2 separate regions of the Homo sapiens genome follow, and region 2 is linked to region 1. The links are contacts of gene promoters, found by promoter capture Hi-C in human tissues and cell types (Jung and others, 2019). All regions are on one chromosome and are shown on one strand. Each heading gives the region's core, a stretch centred on a gene start or on the middle of the fragment in contact. The rest is flanking DNA. Distances are from core to core; before and after follow the strand shown. Region 1 holds the start of TAAR5 (trace amine associated receptor 5). Region 2 has its middle 7.0 kb from the start of TAAR9.

Region 1 (3,643 bases), core at 243-2,742:
ATTCAACATGTTATTTACCTTGATAATATCCCTGTGAAATCAAGTTACACAGGTATAATTGTACCTACTCTTACCAATGGGGAAGCAGAGAGAGAGGTTAGGTATGGCATAAGAAAGGATGAAACAGGAATTTAACTATTCTTCCTCCAGGTGAACTGCTTCATCTACCATGCTTTCTTTCACCATCACAAAATATAGTGCTCAAAAAACACATAATGATGAATCCTGTGTGGAAGTCACAAACCACCCCTTCATGAACCAAAAAACCCATGATCAATTATTCTCAACTATTTCTCATGTTGAGAGAAATATACACAAATAATACTAAAGCAGAAGAAAAATAAGAAACTCACTAAAAATGAAATTAGAAAATATATAGCAGCCATTAGCAGGCAAGAATACCTTCAAAACATCCCAGAACTGAAAAATTAAAAAAGAATATATACATCCACCGTCTTTAAATTTTATCTCTAATTAATTGTCAGGGTAAGTGATTCTGTATTGAGGAGGAACCTTAAACAACTGAGACTTGCAAATAGTGCAAACTAGGTCCCATGGTGCCTCTTCACAGCTTATTTGTATCATAGCACATGGAGGAGTAGTTTCTATTGAGAGTATAAAATCGTTAACTAATTGCACACCTGTCATTGTGGCCAACAGAAGAGTACTCTGACATTCCCTGTGTCCACCTGCTCCAAGAAACATTTTTTCCCAGGAAGGGATTCTGATTCCTACCTGTGTAAGTAACTTAGAAACTCTGAATTCAATATATTAGGACTTGGTTAATAATTCACAGACTTACATTAAGATGTTAAATAGATAAAATCATTTTGCCTATCAAATAGTTATACCAAGATGTGTAAACACTTTGTGTTATCATCATAAAATGTGCAGCATTTAAAGCTAAAATAGAGCAATTTTCTACTCTTTTAATTATTAATATTTGCATGCTGAATTCTTCTCTTGGGAAGAGTTGGCATGTAGCTAAAAATCTTAATCTGCTAACTTTATTGTCAATGTATGTAATTCTTAAAGAGAGAAGCTAGAAGTTACACTTTTTCCAAGGAATAATTTATTAACAAGAATTAATTGGTCACTTGGTTCAGATCTTTGCTTTAAATTTCACTTTACATTTGACAAAAAATACCTTATCAAAACGTAAGAGACATTCTCTATTATTTAATACTACCTATGGATATAATCAAGCTTTCTTTGAGGAAACATTCAGCTTACATCCTTCTTTTCTTTCTTTAAGAATACTACCTACACTAGTTTTAAAGTGCCTAGTCATATAAACTAGAGCTAGCAGAAGTAACTCTCATGAAACCTTGAATACTATGCTGCATTTGATTTTCAGGGCACATTTGATTCAGTACCCAGGGGCACTGTACTATGTTCCAAACTGTACTTTAGTTTCTTCCTCTTCGTTTCACTCTGTGATTATTTAGCAGACATATTTTTTTTTTTTTTTTTTTTTTTTTTTTTTTTTTGCCCTCCAGTGGAGAAGGTGGCCAGTTCTCAGACAGAGGAAGAGTAGAAATCATAAATGAGAGCTGTCTTCATCCAAGGTGCTGAAGAGCACCCTGCGGCATTCTGCTACCAGGTGAATGGGTCTTGCCCCAGGACAGTACATACTCTGGGCATCCAGTTGGTCATCTACCTGGCCTGTGCAGCAGGCATGCTGATTATCGTGCTAGGGAATGTATTTGTGGCATTTGCTGTGTCCTACTTCAAAGCGCTTCACACGCCCACCAACTTCCTGCTGCTCTCCCTGGCCCTGGCTGACATGTTTCTGGGTCTGCTGGTGCTGCCCCTCAGCACCATTCGCTCAGTGGAGAGCTGCTGGTTCTTCGGGGACTTCCTCTGCCGCCTGCACACCTACCTGGACACCCTCTTCTGCCTCACCTCCATCTTCCATCTCTGTTTCATTTCCATTGACCGCCACTGTGCCATCTGTGACCCCCTGCTCTATCCCTCCAAGTTCACAGTGAGGGTGGCTCTCAGGTACATCCTGGCAGGATGGGGGGTGCCCGCAGCATACACTTCGTTATTCCTCTACACAGATGTGGTAGAGACAAGGCTCAGCCAGTGGCTGGAAGAGATGCCTTGTGTGGGCAGTTGCCAGCTGCTGCTCAATAAATTTTGGGGCTGGTTAAACTTCCCTTTGTTCTTTGTCCCCTGCCTCATTATGATCAGCTTGTATGTGAAGATCTTTGTGGTTGCTACCAGACAGGCTCAGCAGATTACCACATTGAGCAAAAGCCTGGCTGGGGCTGCCAAGCATGAGAGAAAAGCTGCCAAGACCCTGGGCATTGCTGTGGGCATATACCTCTTGTGCTGGCTGCCCTTCACCATAGACACGATGGTCGACAGCCTCCTTCACTTTATCACACCCCCACTGGTCTTTGACATCTTTATCTGGTTTGCTTACTTCAACTCAGCCTGCAACCCCATCATCTATGTCTTTTCCTACCAGTGGTTTCGGAAGGCACTGAAACTCACACTGAGCCAGAAGGTCTTCTCACCGCAGACACGCACTGTTGATTTGTACCAAGAATGATTCCTTCTACTAAATGCAGGCAAGGAGTAGGACCTCACAGGAAAGATAAGTGGCACTGTGACCGTGGGCTGTGTGGTGTTGAGTTTGTGGGCATGCTTCCAGGACAGCATGGGTTAAGTAGAAGAGAAAGACAAGCTCCTTAACTTGGAAAGGGATAAAGCACTCCCCACATTCAATGTTTTATATATATGTATGTATATACACGTATATATATATATACGTATATATATATTTATTATACTTTAAGTTCTAGGGTACATGTGCACAACGTGCAGGTTTGTTACATACGTATGCATGTGCCATGTTGGTGCACTGCACCCATTAACGTCATTTACATTAGGTATATCTCCTAATGCTATCCCTCCCCCCTCCCCCCACCCCACAACAGGCCGCGGTGTGTGATGTTCCCCTTCCTGTGTCCAAGTGTTCTCATTGTTCAATTCCCACCTATGAGTAAGAACATGCGGTGTTTCGTTTTTTGTCCTTGCGATAGTTTGCTGAGAATGATGGTTTCCAGCTTCATCCATGTCCCTACAAAGGACATGATCTCATCCTTTTTTATGGCTGCATAGTATTCCATGGTGTATATGTGCCACATTTTCTTAATCCAGTCTGTCATTGTTGGACATTTGGGTTGGTTCCAAGTCTTTGCTCTTGTGAATAGTGCTGCAATAAACATACGTGTGCATGTGTCTTTGTAGCAGCATGATTTATATTCCTTTGGGTATATACCCAGTAATGGGATGGCTGAGTCAAATGGTATTTCTAGTTCTAGATCCCTGAGGAATCGCCACACTGACTTCCACAATGGTTGAACTAGTTTACAGTCCCACCAACAGTGTAAAAGTGTTATTTTTTATAGTACATTGGAGGAAAAGGAGAGCAAGAAATCATCTTAATATCCACTGGATAAGCCAGAACACTGTGCACATATTTGGTTCCTCATTCATTGCTTCCTTGAAACAACTAGGATGCAACAACGGAAGGAACAGAGCCCTGAGGTCTGGCTTTCTGAGTTCTCACACTGGTTCTGCCACACAGAGCAGCCAAGAGAGATTTCAGCAATCTTTGAATCCTCCCTCC
Region 2 (3,515 bases), core at 222-2,721, 44 kb after region 1:
TATTTGCCTTTTCAATATGGCATACTATCTTCCTTCTATGGAAGTATACCTTCTAGCACCACTTCTCATTTTTTCCTCTATTTCCTGATATAAATGATGGTCAGAAAAGAGTCAACACGTAAAGGAAGAAGAGGTTTGCTCTAATGAGAAGCTCAGTGAGAAAATGGCAGCTATTGATTGCGGGAGCAACATAAACTTTACTCCCAGCCTTGCTGATGATGGACAGGTAAACCTTCAAGTCACCATGGAATGTGTGGACGTCTCCATACCCAGAGCCTGCCTCCTTCTGGAAAATAATTTATTCACAGGTAGGTTTGAGTCTATGCTCCCCAATCTTTTTCACTTTATTATATGTACCTTACAATAGGGTAAACCAGAGGGAATTTGGGGTATCAACATAAGACATCTTATGAAAGTCATACATTTGCTTTATATAACATAGTTAATGTAACTGACTAAGACAGTCAACCTTAATGTTCCCCTCAGCTTGACTAAACTTAAGACAGGCTTCTTCCTGACTTGAGGCTCCTGACCACCCTTTCTTAGAGCATTTACTTTAGAAAATTAGTATTTACGAATTCTTTCTCTGTGCTTTTGAGAGGTAAGTCTTTTTAAAAGCTTCTTGCTAGTTTTATAACCCAGGAATGTCTTTCTCAAGGTCCTGGGAGCCATCCCTTTGAAATGTAATTATCAAGAAAGATGATAACATCCTTATTTCCCAGTTCCTGTAGGAAGGTAGAAGTCTTAACTTCAAGGGATGCCTTGCTCCAAGCTGGAAAACTACCTCCTGTCATGAAGATATAAGAAAGTTCACTTTCCCTTTTGGTGGGGCCCATTAGCAAACACAAGTGGTCTACAACCTCCTCTCCCTTAACTTTCAAAAACTTTTCAGCCCTTTGTTTCAGTGAAGTTGAGCTCAGATGAGTTGAGTTCTGGCCTTTCTCCCCTGTAGCAATTGTCTGCAGTAAAGTCTTCCTTGTCTTTAACTTTGTCTGGTGCAATTTTTTGCTTTGAAATAGTAAAAATATAGTATAGCGTTTATCGGTTGACTATTGCATGTAACAAACAACCACAAATTCTCACTCATATATGACATTAAACATTTATTTCTCACATATCTGCGTTTGAGCTGAGTTGACTCTACTTCAGGCTATGGCAACTGGGGACAGGGAGGACTTGGCTCTGGTTAATGCTGTAGCAAGGCTTACGTATCTCTCATCCTCCTTGGATCTGCTGGCTACCTGAGCATGTTCTCATAGCAATGGCAGAGGTTCAAGAGAGCAAACGGAAATAGGATATCATAAGGCCTAGGCTCAGAATTTGCACACTGTCTCTTCTGCTCTCACTCTGCCTCACATGGGCAGAACTGCAAAATTATATAACAAAGGGTGTGAATACAGGGAGAAATGAATAATTCAAAAATTAACTCAACTACAAAAAGTGTTAAGAAATATCCCTTTCTTAGCATGATGTGGAAAAACAGCAAATGATGGAGGTTGCTCATTCCACCTGGCACCTACGGAAAAAGCATCACACTGTCAGACCTTGCTCAATGTGGGCAACCATCAGAAGAGACTCAGTAGCCAGAGTGTACTAGCCCAAGAGCACTGACCATCCTGGGCCCAGTCTGATTGTCCTGAGTACTGAGTGGATTAGTTTCTCCAGGACTTCGTGTAATCCATTTGCAACACATCATTATGGCATTGGTTCAGAAACCCTGATTTAGGTAATAGCGTGATGTCCATCAGATATTTACCAACATTTTCAGTAAGTTTTATGTGTTATTAACCAAAACCTGTTGTCTATCTTGATATGATATCTTGATATGATATCTCAAATGATGTTCTCATAATGTAGTGTGTCTTTATGGCAGACCCAGAGAGTGACACTGTTTAGATCCCTCTTCAACAAAGGAGTCTGGACCACTTGGGCATCCTATTTTAGATACCATTGATTTATTACATTGATAACATTATGCTGATCATGCAGGATAAGCAATTTGTAAATAGCACACTAGAGGCCTTGGAAAGATACATGCTTCTTAGAAGTTTGGAGATAGCCTCTATGCAGATTGAGGGGCTCTCTACTTCATTATAGTGGTCAGAGATGTCCCATCCAAAGTTAAAGACAAATGATTACATCCAGTACTCTCTACAGCTAAAAAAGGAAGCACAATGCTTGGTTTACCGCTTTAGGATCTTGAGAAAATATATTCCATGCTTAGGAATACCACTCTGGTGCATACACTGGATAATACTAAATTCTTCCAGCTCTCGGTGGGGCCTGGAGCAGAAGATGGCTCTACAGTGGGTCTAAGCTATAGAATAACTGTCACAATTTGACGACCTTGCAGTGATGAAGGTATTAGTAGTGGAAAAAGAGGCAGTGTATTTTTTATGGGAGGCTCCACTGAGAGAAACACAGTGCAGTCCTCTGGGAGTCTAGAGTAAGGAAGATAAATACCTTTTGAAAGATAGCTCTTGGTGAGCTACTGAGCCCAGGAAGTGATGGAACGCTTGACCATGTGACATCAAGCTATCATGTGTCTGTAACTGCCTATTATGAGTTAGGTCTTGTTGGATCCTCCAATGGAAATGATGCATGTAGGACCAAACACAAGCAAGGCCAGTGGGAACATGTGAGCAACATGAGCCCAGAGCCCATTACCTACCGCCTTTGCAGCAGTACCCCCTCCATTTCACACTTCAGGAAACTAAAGAGGAGAAAAACACAAGCTTGGTTTACAGATGGGCTGTCTCAGTATGTGGGTGGAAGCCAAAAACGGACAGCAGATGCATTATAAACTCCCTTAGCCTTAGATGACAGAAGAGAGGAAAACAAACTCCCTAATAGATGAAGCTTTGGTTTTGCCTAATTGGTCTTAATTGAGCAACACCAGAAAGTTGTCCCATTTAAATAACTCCTCCCTTCCTAAAACTTCACCCTTGTTACTTTCTTCTTTTTACAAACTGTTACTCTTTGAACATCTCTTAAAATTTCTCTTGTACCTTTATCCACTACCAACCTAAAAGGGAACCCCTCTGAGAATGGTATGTTTTATTGTTAATGCTCCCATATGAAGAATTTAATTCATTTGGCAAGTAGTTATTGTTTAACAGCTCATATTACTGATGGGAAAGGACGCAGCACAAACAGCTTGAACACAGCCTGAAATGTCAGAGTGTTCCTAGGTGAGGGGAGAAAGTAGAGACAGGGTAGCTGGGGGACTCCCCAGGGAATTTTGCCTGTTTTATAAATTTAACAAGGATGAATTAGTACAGGGACCTTATATATTCTTATCTTTGAAGTGATCTGTGATGCTTAGCTTAGTATTGCCCTTAGGAAATAATGAAACTTGCCCTTTGGCATTAGACGTGTGTGTGTGTGTGTGTGTGTGTGTGTGTGTGTTTGAACAGAATAAAATAAGAATAAAATATAAATGTCAGCTCTTATGTTACACCTGGGAAGATAGTCTATAATTTTTCATTTCCAAGAAATGTCGTTGCTTTTTCCAA

The links. Contacts are between HindIII fragments. The study calls those that stand out against the background at their distance.
Region 2: a fragment that was not itself captured here is called in contact with the fragment with the promoter of TAAR5 in region 1 in 1 of the 25 tissues and cell types used here (psoas muscle).

The regions. Positions count from the first base shown.
Region 1 is chr6:132,587,590-132,591,232 of GRCh38, reverse strand. TAAR5 (trace amine associated receptor 5) reads left to right here and starts at 1,492. Exons shown (of 1, transcript NM_003967.3): 1 at 1,492-2,641. The coding sequence starts at 1,547. The coding sequence ends at 2,560. The HindIII fragment of the contact is 8,704 bases long and covers 1-3,643 here.
Region 2 is chr6:132,543,495-132,547,009 of GRCh38, reverse strand. No RefSeq gene overlaps it. Among named protein-coding and RNA genes, the nearest start is that of TAAR9, 7.0 kb to the right of the region's middle. The HindIII fragment of the contact is 4,293 bases long and covers 1-3,515 here.